2 separate regions of the Homo sapiens genome follow, and region 2 is linked to region 1. Evidence: promoter capture Hi-C in 16 types of primary human blood cells and fetal thymus (Javierre and others, 2016). All regions are on one chromosome and are shown on one strand. Each heading gives the region's core, a stretch centred on a gene start or on the middle of the fragment in contact. The rest is flanking DNA. Distances are from core to core; before and after follow the strand shown.

Region 1 (5,295 bases), core at 1,182-3,681:
CTATTTTTCAAAACCCACACATACAAAAAGTCAGTCCTCCATGTAAGCGGGTTTTGCATCCTGAGAATACTGTATTTTTGATCCATGTTTGGTGGGAAAAAAAAAACGTGTTTAAGTGGGCTCGTGAAGTTCAAACCCATGTTGTTCAAGGTTGACGTGTAGTTAAGTTTTTGGGGAGTCAAGTTATACCAAATTCTGACTGCATGGGAGATGGGGGGGCGAGTTAGCACCCCTAACCCCCATGTTGTTCAAGGGTCAACTGTATTGCCTCTTCCAATATGTTGTAAGAATAAGTATTGTTTCAGAAAAGATTTACTTCAAGGTATATATGCGTGTGTGCTTGTGTTTGTAATGGGTAGCAATGTAAAATGTATTCATTTTTGTAAGTCACAGACAAAAGTATCTAAAACTGCTACTGCTTTAGCAATAGCATTGCTGAATTGTATATCTTCAACCTTAACAGAGATAATGCCAGATTGCTCTCCAAAATTATTATACCAAATCACACTCTCAACAGCAGTGTGAGATGTTCCATATCTCTCTATATAGAATCTCTCTATATAGAATATCTATATAGATATTCTATATATTATACCTATGTTCCATATCCTCACCTGAACTTAATAGTGCCAGACTTTTAATGTGCTATCGATCCATTTAATGTGCTATCAATACTGGGTGTTGAATAGTATCTTAATGTTGTTTTCAGTTGCGTTTTTCTGATTTCCAGTACATCTTTTCATACATTTGACCATCTAAATTTTGCCTATTGTGAATCATCTGTTTATATCCCTTACTTGTATATTATACAATACAACCCTCACAACAGCTCTCTGAAGGAGCCAGCAGTATAGATGAAGAAACTAAGTCTGGGAGAAATGTTGCTTAAAGTAACCCAGCTAATGAGTTTTTGAGCTGAAATTTGAGTCCAGATGTAGAGGACCCGTAAACCTATGCCTTTTGTTTTACACTACATGCCAGGGCCCAAGGTCATGTTAGAAAAAAAAACAGAGGAAGAGCACAAATAAATTTGAACATGTAACCCTATGTCTTGTGTCTAATTAGGCTTTGTGCAATTAACATAGATTATTTCCTTGCTTCCTCACAACAACCTGTGAGGTAAAACGTGTTATCTCCATTCTACAGATGAGAAAACTAAGGTGTAGGGAAGTGAAGAAATTTGTCTTGGAAGGGTTAAATTACAGCTAGAAATTTGCCTTGGAAAGGTTAAATTACAGCTAGGGACAGAATTGCAACTCAAACACAGATCTGCCTGATTACCAAGTCCACGCCTGTTCCACAGTAATGTCTGTCCATAGATACTCCTGGTGTAAGGTAAAGGCCTCCCACAAATCAAGCCTGACTCATCATCTCCTAGAGCCAGGTCTTGACCTGCTTCCCCAGTTTCTCTCCAGATCCCCATATGTTTCTACTTCGGTACGGCCAGGACTATACCTACTATCTTTCTGCAGAATAATGGTCTGAGGCAGCCTTAAAACTGGCCGAGCCCTGCTGCTTCACATTAACCATCTGGGCTAGGTTAGCTCCCATAGATTACTCTTCCCCTTCCTCAGGCTTCTCTAATGAAGCCCAATAAGGATCTCAACACCTTCCAAGGTAAACCAGAAAATTATAAGTCAGAGTCCTTAAACGTGGCTGCACATTAAAATCACTTGTGAACTTAAAAAAATCCTGATGCACTAGTTACAACCCAGGCCCATTACATCAGAATGGTACCCAGGCATTCATAATAGTTAAAGCTTCCCAGATGATTCCAATCTACAGCCAAGATTGAGAACCACTGTTACGGCATCTTCTTCAAGCTCCAGCAGCCATACTCAGTAGTTTCCACATTTTAGGTTTTCATAGGAACTTCTTGGAGCACTGGTAAAGAGCCAGATTTCTGGACGCCATCCCAGAGAATCCTGGTTCAGACCCAGGAGTCTACATTCTTAATAATCACCCCAGATAGTTTCACTGCAGATTATTAGCAGACAATATTTTGAGAAATGCTGCATTAGAGGCATGGAAGTAGGATGGGAACAGGAGGCCTCTGGCCCTTTAAGGATGGATTAAGGGACTACTTTTAAGGCTGTAGGGGCAAGTAGGATCAGGCTGCTTTTTTTCATTCTAGTGGATAAGTTAAGGAAGTGGGTCCTGAAATGGACCTCTCCTTTTAAGTTACCTGAGCCTCTCAATAGGTACTATCTTGTTCTCAGCCCGGGAGAGCGGGAGGGGCATGCTGCCTTGTCCCACCTTCTGTTTCTGTTTCTTTTGATGCAAAGAGGCCAAGTTATGAGGCAACTTTGGTCCAGGAGATCCTCTTAGAGAAAGCAACATAGGGCCTGCCTGCCTTTCTTTTTCTTGCCCCATCCTTGGTTGTGGAGCCAGGATGCAGTTATCTGCATGAAAGGAAATGGTCAGAGTGACGTCCCTTGGGCTTGTGTTGGGGCCTGTTGTTGAACACTAAGCCTTTCAAGATGGTCCTCCTCAGTATTCTTAGAATTCTTTTTCTTTGTGAACTCGTGCTTTTCATGGAACACAGGGCCCAAATGGCAGAAGGAGGGCAGTCCTCTATTGCCCTTCTGGCTGAGGCCCCTACTTTGCCCCTGATTGAGGAGCTGCTAGAAGAATCCCCTGGCGAACAGCCAAGGAAGCCCCGGCTCCTAGGGCATTCACTGCGGTACATGCTGGAGTTGTACCGGCGTTCAGCTGACTCGCATGGGCACCCTAGAGAGAACCGCACCATTGGGGCCACCATGGTGAGGCTGGTGAAGCCCTTGACCAATGTGGCAAGGCCTCACAGAGGTGAGTTGTTATGCCCCCATACTGCCCTGGAAGGGAGAGAAGTGGAGAGGAGTGTAGAGAAAAGGGAATTGGTGGGTTTACTGTCAGGCTTTGTTGCCTTGTGGGCAGGTTGTTTCTTTAGGCTTGGTTTTCAAAGGATGGCAAGCTTTGGAGAAGCCAGCGCCAAGCCTACTTCCCTTTAGGGCATCAACTTAAGAACAGATTGCCTTGGTGCCTACTGAGAAATCTTTCCCAGGCCCCAGGACAACTGAGTGATGTGCCATCACCTATCTTTCACAGAAACTTTTATTGCTTGTGATAGTTCTGAAAACTGTAGAGACATATCCAGCTATATTCTTGTGGAGGGCTATTTAAGTGGCGTTTTGCTCTTAGAGTACAGCTTGCTGAGTTGGGGAAACTTATAAGGCCTCAGAAAGGACATAAATAAGCTTACATCTGAGGGTCTGTATACCTGGCTCTGTGAACATGTGCTACTGTATTTCTTAATGAAAGCTACTATCTTAACTGTCTTGATGCAATTAGCCTAATTTTAAAACTAAGGCACGGAGAGGTTAAGTAACTTGCAAATGGTACACAGATAGTGGGTCGCAGAGATGGGATTGCAGCTGAAGTCTGTCTGATTCTAAAGTCTGTCGGTAACTTCTTAAGTCTTTAAATGCAGTATTCCAATATCCTTGTACCCCCAATAGTTTTTCTACTTGGGCCATATTGCTACTTTGGGATTCTGGGACTAAGTGTATTTTGGAACTTTTTTTTGTCCCCATCATGCTTGATTTTGCTTTTAACATTTGCATCAGACATTGTTGCAGGACAACAGTGGGCTATTGAAGTGTAGGACTCTCTAGAGAATGCAGACAGTCATCAACTTCAAGGAATTCTTGGGAACCTAGTGAGATCAATCTGTAGCCTTCACTAGTCTGAGATGAAAAGGGACAGGACTTAATCCCCTCCCCAAGCAAAACAATAAATATTCTCGTACCTAACCCTTACTGTGAGATTACTGTGTGCCAGGCATTGCACAAAATGTTTTATAAACATTATCTTAATCCTCACAACTACCAGATTAGGTAGTATTAACATGCCTACTTGATAGGTGAAGAAACTGAGGATCAGAGTCACTTACCCATGTCATACAACCAGTAATTGCTAGAGCCAGGTATCAAACCCAGGCTCTCAGGCCCAAAGCCTGTGTGTTAATCATCTTGCTGTTCTGACTCCCCACTGGATTTTAATTGAGTGCCAGGCAGTGTGTTTGGGTTGGGTATATAGAAGCAAATACTTTTCCGACCTCTAGAAGTTCCCAGTATAGTGGAATGGATAGATAATTACATAATAATGTTACAGTATGCCAAGTGCTTTGGAAAGGACAAACAGTAGGGCTCCCAGGACCTATGAGAAGAAATGGCTCATTTCTTGAAGTGAAGAGACTGTTGGAAGGCCTCATGGAGGAGGTAGTACTTGAAACTGACCTTGCAGAAGGAGCAAAGAGGTCATGCATTGAGGCAGATAAGTGCATTCTGATTTAGGAAAGAGAAAATGGTGTGGGTAGAGATTCATTGAACAAATATTAGGTGCCAAATGTTGGCACCTACTGAGTACTAGGCATACAGATGTGATCAAGATAGGTAAAACCCCTACTTTCATGGAACATATGTTCTCGTAGGGGAGACAAATAAGCACACACAGTTAAATTGTGAATTGTGGTAAGTGCTATCAAAGGATGAAGTAGGTTGTTAAGATAGAGAATGGCAATGAAACCTTCCCTTTCCATGGACTTGTCAGGGAATGTATCTTTGAAGAAGTGCCATTTGAGCTCAGGTCTATAAGATAAACTAGGCATGAGAAGAGTAGGGAGAAGCCTGATTTAGGCAGAGGAACAACAGGTGCAAATGCCTAGAGGGTGAAAACAAGTTGGTTCCAATTGAAGAACAGAGGAAAATCAGTATGGCTGGATCCTCATGAGCATTGTGGGAAATGGCAGGGTATGAGGCTAATGAGAAGCAGGGACTTGTAGGCTGTGATAAGGGATCTGGATCCTAAGAGCAGCAGAAAGTTGCAAAAAATCAAGCACTTTGGGAGGCCAATATGGGAAGATCACTTGAGCCCAGGAGACTGAGACCAGCCTGAGCAACACAGGGAGACATGTCTCTACAAAAAATAAAAATACATTAGCTGGGTGTAGTGGTGCACACCTGTGGTCCCAGCTACTCACGAGGCTGAGACCAGAGGATCATTTGAGCCTGGGAGGTTGAGACTAGAGGAACATTTGAGCCTGGGAGGTTGAGATTGCAGTGAGGCATGATTGTGCCACTGCACTCCAGCCTGGGTGACAGTGAGGCCCTGTCTCAAGGAAAAAAAACAACAACCCCACAAATTAAGAAAAAATTAGGCTTGTACAGATGATGTGAGGCTAGAAAGGAGGATGCCTAGAATTAGACATGTATCCTGGTCTCACTGTGGAATATACTGGTATCTAGGGACTGTGGA
Region 2 (4,901 bases), core at 301-2,800, 230 kb before region 1:
CATTCCTTCATTAATTGTTAACATAGACTATCATGTTGTGGATACTGAGACTTTACAGATAATTAAAATGCAGCCCCTGTCTTCAAGGAAATCATAGTTTAGTAGAGAAAAGCAATATCTAAACTAACAGTTATGATGAGATGTGGTTAAGTGCACAGAGGACGGAGCTCTCCTGTAGGGATGAGGAACAGTTTGTAATACATAGCAGAAACCTTTAACAATGAGCAGAGACTTAGCAGGTAAAGGAGTGGGACACTATTCTAAGCAAAGAGAACAGTATCTGCAAAGGCAGAGACATGAGAGGACACTGTATTCAGGGAACGGTTAATATGTTCAAGGAGGCTAAATGTATGAGATTTGTCCATACGTTGTCATCATTTAGAGAGGGGAACAACACACACTGGGGCCTTTTGGAAGGTGGAGGGTGGGAGGAGGGAGAGATCAACAAAAATAACTAATGAGTACTAGGCTTAATATCTAGGTGATGAAATAATCTGTATAACAAACCCCCATGACACAAGTTTACCTATTAACTCTTTACCTATGTAACAAACCTTCACTTGTACCCCTGAACTTACAATAAAAGTTTTGAAAAATGAGATTTGAATGAATACATATCTGAGGTAGAACCAACAGGATTTGGTAACTGATTTGATAAAGGTGAAGTGGGTAGCTGAGAGAAGAGGGGATCAAGATGCTTCTTGAATTCCTACTTTAAAGGACTAGGACCATTAAATGTGATCAGGAACAGGAAAGGAGGAGAGGGCATTCTTGTTTCTGGATGGGGGGAAAGTATTAAAACATATTGAGTTTGAGGTACCTGTGTTTCTTGGCAAAAATGTCCTCCAGACAACTGGAAATATGAAGTTAGTATTGAGAAAATAGTTCTGGACTAGAGATGTAAATGTGTGAGGCATCAGTATTCAAATAGTTGATGCTATAGTAGTAAATTATGTTACATACTGAAAGGGCACACTGAGAAGCTGGGTGTCTGAGAGACAAAAAAAAATTGATAGAGCAAAGTCCAATGTTCCTTTTTGACTATTTGCCATTCGGTCTTCACAAAACTAGTTTAGATTCCCCTCAATGCATTAACATTTAGAGAACTCTGGCTTGAATAAGACAAAGAGATGAAAAGGCTGCCATTTCTCAGCCATTGCTGCCAACTCCCTTCTCTTCTATCTCCACATAGCATCTCTGGGGAGGTAAGGATCTGCTGAAGTCAGTAAAGAAAATTCCATAGCTTTCTTTGGTGATTTATTACTGACTGCAGAAAGTGATTTAGTTCTCTAGAAGACCTAGCTAAAATCCTTCCTGCTACAAATGATACTGTTTCTTCATGTGCTGTCTTAATGGAAAAAGAAGACAGTTAGATACCCTATTGTGTGTATCATGGAATTATGTTTTCCAGTCTGGACAGCATGGGGAAGTAGATTTTTCAAGACAAATAAAGTGGCTGATGGGAGGCCCTAGGGTTGACAGGGAAAAAGATGTGGATAAGATTATGGGATTCAATTCCTGGTATTCTAGAAAAGTAGTTTTTTTTTTTTCTAGTCCTTGAAAGCAGTTATTAAATCACTTCTTCTTGTCTTACAAAACAAATATATGAAGAATCAAATACACAGCTTATTTATTTTGCAAGGCAAAACTCCCCTATGGACATTAAATTGGCTGTGAAATGAGTTAAGTCGGCAATTTTGCTTTGGTTTTGTTTTGTTTTTGTGTTTGAAACCATCCATGGCAAGTGGCTATTTCTAAGGGCTTGAAAATTTTATCTTCTCTGGGTTGAATAATCTTGATTCTTTCACAAAGCCTTCACTTGAATGACTTTTCTATCCATTAATTATTTTATATCACTTCCTTGATTGCTCACCAAATTCTTTGTACCCATCTTTAGCTATTATGATAGGATCACTTTAACTCTCTGATCAAAAACTGCGTTTAAATATTGTTCAAAACATTCTGTTCTGTGCAAGGGATATAAGCCCTTGAAAAAAACATTTCAGAGAAAAAAAAAGTGTCAGGCCCTGTTGTTAAAGGAAGTGAGCTGTACCGGAATATTAATCAAGTCCAGTTATTGTATCCAAATTAAACTGGTGTCTCTTAATTCCAGCTTGAAAAGCAGCAAAGTGGAAGGAAGAAAAGTAATGCAAAGGATAAAAATAGAAAATATTTCCTGCTTAAAGAAAGAGAGAAACGGGATTTTTACATACATAGTGGCATCACTTCCTTAATGAAGCTATTCCCTTTTCTATAAATTCTGTCTGGTGTGGAAGGACAAAGAATGGTGGAAGGAAATCTGAAAGCAAAGATGTTGAACAGGTAAAGTTGGAGTTTCCCACTAGTTAGCTCCAATAGTCAAGGCTAGGGGAACATATCAATGGCCAACACAGTATGAATTATAGTTAATCCCTGAGAATGGCAGACTTGAGTATTTTGGATACTAAGGGAGGCCCAAGGATGAAAACATGCTTCTAGAGAACATTTTCATTTTATTTGAATTTAAATTAAGATTTGGGATGAGCTGATAAAAGGCAAAGTGAAGGAGTATCATACCTGGTAGTGCCTTAGCTGTTTATTGTTTTTAAAAATTGTTCTACAATTGCCAGTGGTTTTGGTTAATGTCAATCTAAGATATCTCAACACCGATATCTAGGATTTTTAATAGACAAAAGGCATAATTTTCTCTCTTCCTAATGTGGTAAAACATAAAGTTTGATTTGACTGGTGAGATTGAGTCTAGAAAAATAAAGGGGAAAAGACAGCTAATACTTCTAAAGATGCTAAATTCTAAGTATCTGCATGCTCTCATTTCATCCTCAGTAGAAATCAGTGAAAAAGAGGTGAGAAAATGGACCCAGAGATATTAAGGCAGACGTCCAACTTATCAGTCCACTGCTAATCTTATACTGGTGGTCCTAGGTGTTCTTCCCAAAGTGACATTCATGCATTCATTCATTGACTATTTGTTTATTCATCAAATACTGTATTCCAGGCTCTGAAGCCACGTCCTGGAGATTAATGGTGAAAAACACAAGGCCTAGCTTTATGGAAACTTATTGGTTCCTGACCAATTCTCCAAGTTTTAGGTAAGTCTGAGTTCTAAGTCAACCTATTGACTTCCCATTCTACATTCTGTTATCTGCCTAATCAGTGGGTATTCTTTTGGTTGTATGGCTGTGATCAACTCAAGTATGAGTCATTCAAAAGGGGAAAAACAAAATGACCAACCTATCTTTTCTCTGACACAATCAACCAAATTAGCGTAGGAAAAAGTTATTAAGTCACATCCATTCCATCCTGGGAACAGAGCAAAACCACTCCTTGTATTATGCTACATTATTTTTCAACAAAATTGTCCTGTATAATTGTAAATAATTATAAATGACTCAGTGGCAAAGTTTCCACCATTTCCTCTCAAAGGTTAGCCCACGCTCCAGTAATTTTTAGCATCAAGATGGTTTCTCTGATAGTCAGCCTAAACAGCCCTTGTCCTGATTTCATCTAATTAAGCTCTGATCTACCCTGATCTCATTCTATGCAATTCCTCTTTTGCTGCTGTATTTATATCCTTCAAATATAGCTATATGCCTATCATAACAAATTCTCTCCCCTCTCCACCATGGCTGACCTAATCTTAAGCTAAACTCAGCAGACAAAACTGCAACCCCACCATAACTTCTAGCCATCTCAGTATTTCCTACCCTATGCAGAAAACACCAACTAATTTCTTGCAGTTCTGAGGTCAGACCTTCCAGGTCTCTTCCTATACATTGGGCAGTGGGGCAGGTGTCCAGAGACCACAAATTGCATTTCAATGACATCCTGTCACCTCCACTCTTCTACTTCTCTAGGGTACAGAAGTACTTCCTCAGTGATTTTTTTCTAACCACATGTTTTGAGGGTCTGGCAGAACAGATCCAATTCAGAAGAACATCTTAGAAGATTTTGTTGAATCTATCTGGGTGCAGAACTTATTCCTTCACTCTCACACTCAACTTTTGTTGAAAACTAGCAGTGTCATACCCTAGTGAATCTGACATGTTCTCTCTCAAGGAATTCACAGTCTAATACAGGAGATAAATAGGTCCCTCTCCCCAATTTACCCCCTGCCACCCTCCTTTTCTAAAGAAAATACAATTCCTCATCTCCCATTCACTCTTCACTGAAATTGGGCCTCTGCTCATAATGTTTTAATAAAGCCTTTTCTGCCAAAGTCAACCAGTAACCTCTGAATTAGCAAACTCAATAGTCTTTTTTCAATATTCATCCAACTAAAATGCAAGAATATTCAGCACTATTGATTGTTGGACTGCTTTTTCTTGAAATCCTCTCCCTGTCCTTGGTTTCCATGACACCACTCTCCCACGTCTCCTCCTACATTTCTGAGTGCCCTTTCTTTCTCTCCTTTACACCACTTTCTCCCTTTCCTCTCAGCAGACAGCTTCTCCTTATAGTTGATTTAAAAAGATAAGCATTGAGAAAAGAACTTCCTCTTCTTTCCACCGCTGCATCACCAACCTACCTTGCCTTATCTCCTCTTAATATGGGTGAATTATCCTTATCCTTAACAAAGTTCAACTCCGCACTTCTGCTCTGATCTTCCCAAGGACCTTGCTGCTGCAATTATATTTGTCTATGCTGTCCATTTCTTTTCTATACCATCAATTTCTCCCTTGCTACTGAATTATTTCCATTAGCAGTCAGATATTTAATATTTGTGATTTTAAAATTTCCCCTTATGTTTAATATACTTTTATTGAATGTGTCCCTTTAACATATATATTGTTTTGTGTGCATGTATTTTTATAGATACATAATAATTGTACATACTTTGGGGGTACGTGATATTGTGATACATGCAAATAATACATAATGATCAAATCAGAGTAATTGGAATA

What was found. The method cuts DNA at HindIII sites, captures the fragments that hold promoters and counts their contacts. A CHiCAGO score of 5 or more calls a contact.
Region 2: a fragment that was not itself captured here is called in contact with the fragment with the promoter of BMP15 in region 1 in 1 of 17 cell types (M1 macrophages); the score reaches 5.2 in M1 macrophages.

Annotation. Positions count from the first base shown.
Region 1 is chrX:50,908,304-50,913,598 of GRCh38, forward strand. BMP15 (bone morphogenetic protein 15) reads left to right here and starts at 2,432. Exons shown (of 2, transcript NM_005448.2): 1 at 2,432-2,808. The coding sequence starts at 2,481. The HindIII fragment of the contact is 1,193 bases long and covers 1,759-2,951 here.
Region 2 is chrX:50,674,759-50,679,659 of GRCh38, forward strand. The region is part of intron 2 of SHROOM4 (shroom family member 4); the gene reads right to left. Among named protein-coding and RNA genes, the nearest start is that of SHROOM4, 140 kb to the right of the region's middle. The HindIII fragment of the contact is 8,824 bases long and covers 1-4,901 here.